Regions from separate parts of the Homo sapiens genome. Here region 1 is linked to region 2. The links are contacts of gene promoters, found by promoter capture Hi-C in blood cells and fetal thymus (Javierre and others, 2016). All regions are on one chromosome and are shown on one strand. Each heading gives the region's core, a stretch centred on a gene start or on the middle of the fragment in contact. The rest is flanking DNA. Distances are from core to core; before and after follow the strand shown.

Region 1 (3,063 bases), core at 62-2,561, 33 kb after region 2:
GTTACAGGAAAAGGGTCCGAATCCAGACCCCAAGAGAGGGTTCTTGGATCTTGCGCAAGAAATAATTCAGGGCAAGTCCATAGAGTAAAGGGAAAGCGAGTTTATTCAGAAAGTAAAGGAATAAAAGAATGGCCATTCCTCAGGGCTGCTGGTTGTCCATTTTTATGGTTATTTCTTGATTATATGCTAAACAAGGGGTGGATTATTCATGCCTCCCCTTTTCAGACCATATAGGGTAACTTCCTGATGTTGCCATGGCATTTGTAAACTGTCATGGTGCTGGTGGGAGTGTAGCAGTGAGGACAACCAGAGATCACTCTCATGGCCATCTTGGTTTTGGTGGGTTTTAGCCGGCTTCTTTACTGCAACCTGTTTTATCAGAAAGGTCTTTATGACCTGAATCTTGTGCCAACCTCCTATCTCATCCTATGACTTAGAATGCCTGACCATCTAGAAATGCAGCCCAGTAGGTTTCAGCCTTATTTTACCCAGTTCCTACTCAAGATGGAGTTGCTCCGGTTCAAATGCCTCTGACAAACCCAGTTGACATGGCAGTGAGCCATCTTCAGTAGTGTGGATGATGAAGACAACACCTTCCAAATGGTAACACCACAAGTTAGAAGCAGCCTTGGGTCTAGACACTGCCAAGCCACCTTACAGACCTTGGACTTTTACTTGTTTGTCATTGTATGTTGGCCCCATTTGATACAACAGTCTAATCTATATCTCAGTCAGATCAAATGGAATGAGAGGCATAAGTGATGTGAGACTAATATATGAAGTCATTGCAGTGCTTACAATTATAACATCCTTTTTCTATGTTATACTTTTTTTTTTTTTTTTTTTTTTTGAGATGGAGTCTCACTCTGTCACTCAGGCTGGAGTGCAGTGGCACCAGCTCAGCTCACTGCAGCCTCTGCCTCCCGGGTTGAAGCGATTCTCCTGCCTCAGCCTCCTGACTAGCTGGGAGTACAGGCATGCACCACCACACCTGGCTAATTTTTGTATTTTTAGTGGAGACAGGGTTTTACCATGTTGGCCAGGCTGGTCTTGAACTCCTGACCTCAGGTAATCTGCCCACCTTGACCTCCCAAGATACTGGGATTTACAGGTGTGACTGCTGCACCCGGCCTTCCTATGTCATACTCTTATTGACTGATGGTCAGTGATCTCTCCAGGGCTTCGGCTAGATTAATCCTTTGATGTTTCACTTTTCTTCTCATTTCCAATTATTCTTCCTTTTCTTTCTTGACTATTGTTTGTCTATATCATTGCATTTTCTCGGGTCTAGTGATCTGTGTAATTTTACCTCATGTTTTAGTAGCATTTCTTCTACAACTGCCTTAAGAGTTGTTACAAACAACTTACACATTTTTTTACAGCTGTTAATACTTTGAAATATCGGAATAAGTCAATAAATAATCAAAATACTACACTTTTTTTTTTTTTGAAACGGAGTCTCGCTCTGTCACCCAGGCTAGAGTGCAGTGGCACGATTTTGGCTTACTGCAACTTCCACCTCCCGGGTTCACCCCATCCTCCCACCTCAGCCTCCCAAGTAGCTGGGACTACAGGCGCATGGACTTCAGGCCACCACGCCTGGTTAATTTTTTGTATTTTTAGTAGAGATGGGGTTTAACCATGTTAGCCAGGATGGTCTCGATCTCCTGACCTTGTGATCTATCCACCTCGGCCTCCTAAAGTGCTAGGATTACAGGCATGAGCCACTGTGCCTGGCCAAAATCGTACACTTTTGAAAGATTTTCATTATCAACCTTTCACTTCTAAGGTTAACATTTATGAATTAACAGGTATGATTTGATTAAGGTAATAATGCAAAAATTATATCCAGTAGAATCCTGGGCCAACATACCTAAGAATAAATAAATAAATATATTTGTGTATGCGTGTATGTTTCCCTGAAATTTTATATTTGTATACATATGTATACAATAGACACAGATGATTTTTATTGAATAAAAACTCATATAATAGATACAGGCTCACATTCTTACACATTTAATAGTCAAATATTTTTTAATCAAGTTGGTTCCTTTGTAAACTCAATATGCATTCAGATTATGTTAAATATTCTTAAAATTTCTATTTTTTCCAAAATAAAGTATTTTTTTGTAATAAAAATTACCTCCTAGACATTGGGGCTATATCAGATACTATATCAAAGCTAAGATTCAGTCCTGAATGAATGCCAATTTTGAAATATTTTTCACTGTAGAAGTCACAGTCCTTCAGAATATAAGTCACCAGTAAGTGCTCCGAATTCCTTTCTGAAGTGTCACATCACTGATTTAGTTAGACCAAGAATAAAACAATTTGAGAAACAAATACACATCTCAATTTATCTCATCCCTTAGCCAACAATATAATATGATTTTGTACCTCCCTCCATTCAAAGCACCAATAGCCAGAGAGTCCTCTTTCCAAAAGAACAAACATACAAACAAATGCAGCTTAAAAAGTAAAATAAATACTCATAGCATCATCAATAAAAAATTATAAAAACAGGGCAAATTTTATTTCAAACATTTTACAGTGCTTTTAAATATTGTTTCAGAAGAAGGAAATAAGCGTATGTATTCTGCTAAGATCTAATGCTTCAGGAACCCACAAAACAGTTATTTTATCACCCTAGCTAGCTACTGATCATAGACATGGGATCAGATGCCATGATAGAGACCAAAACAATGAAGCTTTGTGAACAGCTACAGGACTGCAGCAAACCCAGAGACACTGACATTGCCTGGAAACCAGTGGTCAAGACAGAGCCAATAGTTAGAAGTCAAAAGAGCTTTCATGAGTTATGGAGCACACACATCCAGGAGTTCAAAGCAAGCCTTGAATCACATGAATAACGAAGGCCAAAAGAAAGCATAGAATCAAGACAAGAAGGGCTGGGCGCGGTGGCTCAAGCCTGTAATCCCAGCACTTTGGGAGGCCGAGACGGGTGAATCACAAGGTCAGGAGTTTGAGGCCAGCCTGGCCAAAATGGTGAAACCCCGTCTCTACTAAAAATACAAAAAATTAGCTGGATGTGGTGGCGGG
Region 2 (3,020 bases), core at 382-2,881:
AGACACCTGCCATTTAGCAAAATAAAGTGGGAGTCCAGAAAAAGGAGTACTTGGTAGTAGAAGACAGAGCTGCCTGTTGTATTTCAAAAAGTTAAGCCTTCAAAAACTTTTCAGACATGTGGGCGACTTTTTTTTTTTTTTTTTTTTTTTTTTTTTTTGAGACGGAGACTTACTCTGTTGCCCAGGCTGGAGTGCAGTGGCGAGATCTCGGCTCACTGCAACCTCTGCCTCCCAGGTTCAAGCGATTCTCCTGCCTCAGCCTCCCGAGTAGCTGGGATTACAGGAGCGTGTCACCACGCCCAGCTAATTTTTGTATAAAATTCTTCCTTGACCACCCTCTCCACCTCGAAAAAAAGTAAAGCCTTACTAAGCATGACACTAATGCAAACTCAATGCATACGCTACACAAACATATAACTCCTTATTTGGAGCTAATAATATTCCAAGCCAAGGAAACCTACAAATAATTTCGCTATAGTCATAGGAGAGTGTGAAGATACAAGATAGCAACTTGATATATAACTCACATCAAGAAAACTTTCACCAGCGTTTAAGGGAAAGGAGTTGTAGATGTGGGTCATTTAATACCCACTTCCAAATTCACTGAAGTGGACAGCGCCCTACACACAAGGTGAGACCTACAGGCATCATTGCTTTGAAGCTGCATTTAAGCTCTGAAGCTCCAATATTTATAGAAGACTTTTAAAACTTTGTAAGAAATCACAAAGTTCCCCTTCTTTAAAACAGATCAGTGCTGGGAAGGCTCAAAAGTCACTTTCACTCCCTTACCAAATCATCAAAAAGCCCGGAGTGGCAGGGCCGGGAGCCGAGCATCTCGCGCGCAGCCCCAGCCTGCACAGGTGCGGAGCTCGGGGGCGGCTGGGGGCTCTCGCCCCGCCGCGCGCAGCCTGGAGGCGGCCCCTGCCCTCTTGCGCCTCACCGCCGAGGCCCATGTCCCCTGAGCCACGGACACGGTTCAACAGACACATAAACACGTCTCGCAAATGTGGGGACAAACTGTTCCACCGTTAGGTATAGGGTGGTTTGCTTGGTGGTCACGGATTCTTTCTCAAAACGTGAAGCTTCCAGGAGCACTCCTGTCTTGGCAAAGCCCCTGCGCTGCCGATGAACCCCCCGGGAGGTGGGATGCGGCCGCTGAGCTGAGCACGACCCTCTGCCCTCGCCGTGAGGTGATGCTGAGGGAACCGCCAGCGGCCCGGCCCCTCTGCCAAGGGCGAATTTCCGCGGGCCGGCAGCGAGCCAGGCGCCTCAGGCCCCACGGCGACCTGGCCCGGGCTCTGCCCCCAGACCTTCCGCCGTGGCTGGGTGTGGGTGGCAAAGCCAAAACAGCCCTCTGAGGAGGGGAGCGACGCCCTCGCACCAGCCTTCTCAGGGCGGCGACGCCCCGGGTTGCTCCCCACCGGGTCGGAGTCCGGGGGGTATGAGGGACTCCCACTCCCCGCCCCCACCCCTCTCCGCAGCGCGCCTCCCGCACCTGCGCCGCCGCTTCCGGCCCCGCTGGCCTCCGACACTGCCCGCTGCGCCCGCAACCACGGGAGCACGTCCTTCCCGAGGTCGAAGTCGGCGACCAGGCGAAGAGCCATCGCCCGGACACGACCACCGGGCGGCTCTGGGGCCCCGCACCGCGGGCATTCCCGGCCCCGCGTGGCCGCCTCGCCCTCGCGTCCCCGCTCCCGCCCCCTCTTTCCTCTCCCCCGCCCCCTGCTGCTTTCGGTTCTGCAGCGCCCTGGCCTGAGAAGCTCCGGCACCAGCTCCTCCCGGCCGGCGGCCCGCACCTGAGCCGGAGCCGGAGCCGGGCACGGCGGGTAGCGGTGGGGCGGGGTGGACCAGGCGCCAGGACCAGGCCCGCCGGGGCGGGAGGCCTCCGCGCGCACCTTCGGGGCTGAGGATAGAGGGCGCAAAGACGTGGGCGCTTCAGGGCCTTGGCGAGGCCGCTAGCCCAGTGGCTTCCAAACCTGGAGGGTCGGCCTATTTTCTTTATTCTACAAGTGCCTCCACTGTGCAGCAAAGTGTGGAAACCACTTGGCTTGAGAGAGCTGGGTCCTCTGGAGCAGTTCAGGGTCACCACAGAAGTAGGCCGTCTCTTGGGCCTATTCGCCCCAGCTTCGAGGTGGTGGTGCTTTATTAGTGTTATTAAGGTAATGAGTAGCAACTGGGAGCGTATGACGAAGGTGATCCCATTGTAAGAGAAACGCTAAAAGGGGTTAATGCGCTTGATACAAACAGCGTCCTTTTTGCCTTTTAACTCTAGTACATCTCATTTGATGCCTTGAGACATGAAAACTGAATCTTAAGTCTCCACGCAAACCCTCTGCCTCCCACCAGGGTCTAACAGAGCACTCTGGAAGGTGCTCGACAATTACTGAAGAATGAGTGAATACAGTAATAAAGAATGCTTTTTCACATGCTTCCGAAATTAAGGTCTGAAAACTACTTGTATTGACGTCATCTGGGGCACTATTTTACAATGCAGACTCCTGATCTCTACACCTGGACAAGACCAGAAACGTGCATTTTACCCAGAGCCTCGGGTGATTCTTAGGCTTACTAAGTTTGAAAACTACTCCAACCAAATGTAAAAGAAAGTCTTGAATTTTTTTCCCTCCTAGAGACATGTTTCTCCAACTGAGGTAATGGATGATTTCAGGTAGAACTCCATTACTCACCACCATATACAGAGGAAAGTCCTCCCACCCGGGAAGTGCATGCAAATTTAAGATAAATGCCTAATGAAGCTGCTAATATTATCAGTGAATAAAAGGAAGGCCACTGGAGCCCCCAAGGAGCTAATGCAACTATTTCATATCAAATAAGCTTGTTGCCTTTGTCATACAGAAACACTGTTGGCCAATTTTTTAAAGTCAGTACATTTCCATTGTTTTTATTTTTGCAGTTAACTTCTATTTTTGCCAGGCAGGACTGATTTTATAGTCAAGCAGTGATGATATAAAAAATTCTCTTCAAATTAAGTGAAAAAGCCAATGTAAAGAAGGTGAGAA

Evidence for each region. The method cuts DNA at HindIII sites, captures the fragments that hold promoters and counts their contacts. A CHiCAGO score of 5 or more calls a contact.
Region 1: a fragment that was not itself captured here is called in contact with the fragment with the promoter of GSAP in region 2 in 2 of 17 cell types (monocytes and M1 macrophages); the score reaches 7.9 in monocytes.

The regions. Positions count from the first base shown.
Region 1 is chr7:77,448,002-77,451,064 of GRCh38, forward strand. No RefSeq gene overlaps it. Among named protein-coding and RNA genes, the nearest start is that of GSAP, 33 kb to the left of the region's middle. The HindIII fragment of the contact is 2,796 bases long and covers 1-2,709 here.
Region 2 is chr7:77,414,718-77,417,737 of GRCh38, forward strand. GSAP (gamma-secretase activating protein) reads right to left here and starts at 1,632. Exons shown (of 31, transcript NM_017439.4): 1 at 1,496-1,632. The coding sequence starts at 1,604. It overlaps LOC101927243 (a long non-coding RNA gene), which reads left to right and starts at 481. Exons shown (of 5, transcript NR_110073.1): 1 at 481-631. RefSeq lists silencers at 798-1,087, 1,148-1,357, 1,578-1,927. The HindIII fragment of the contact is 1,753 bases long and covers 1,081-2,833 here.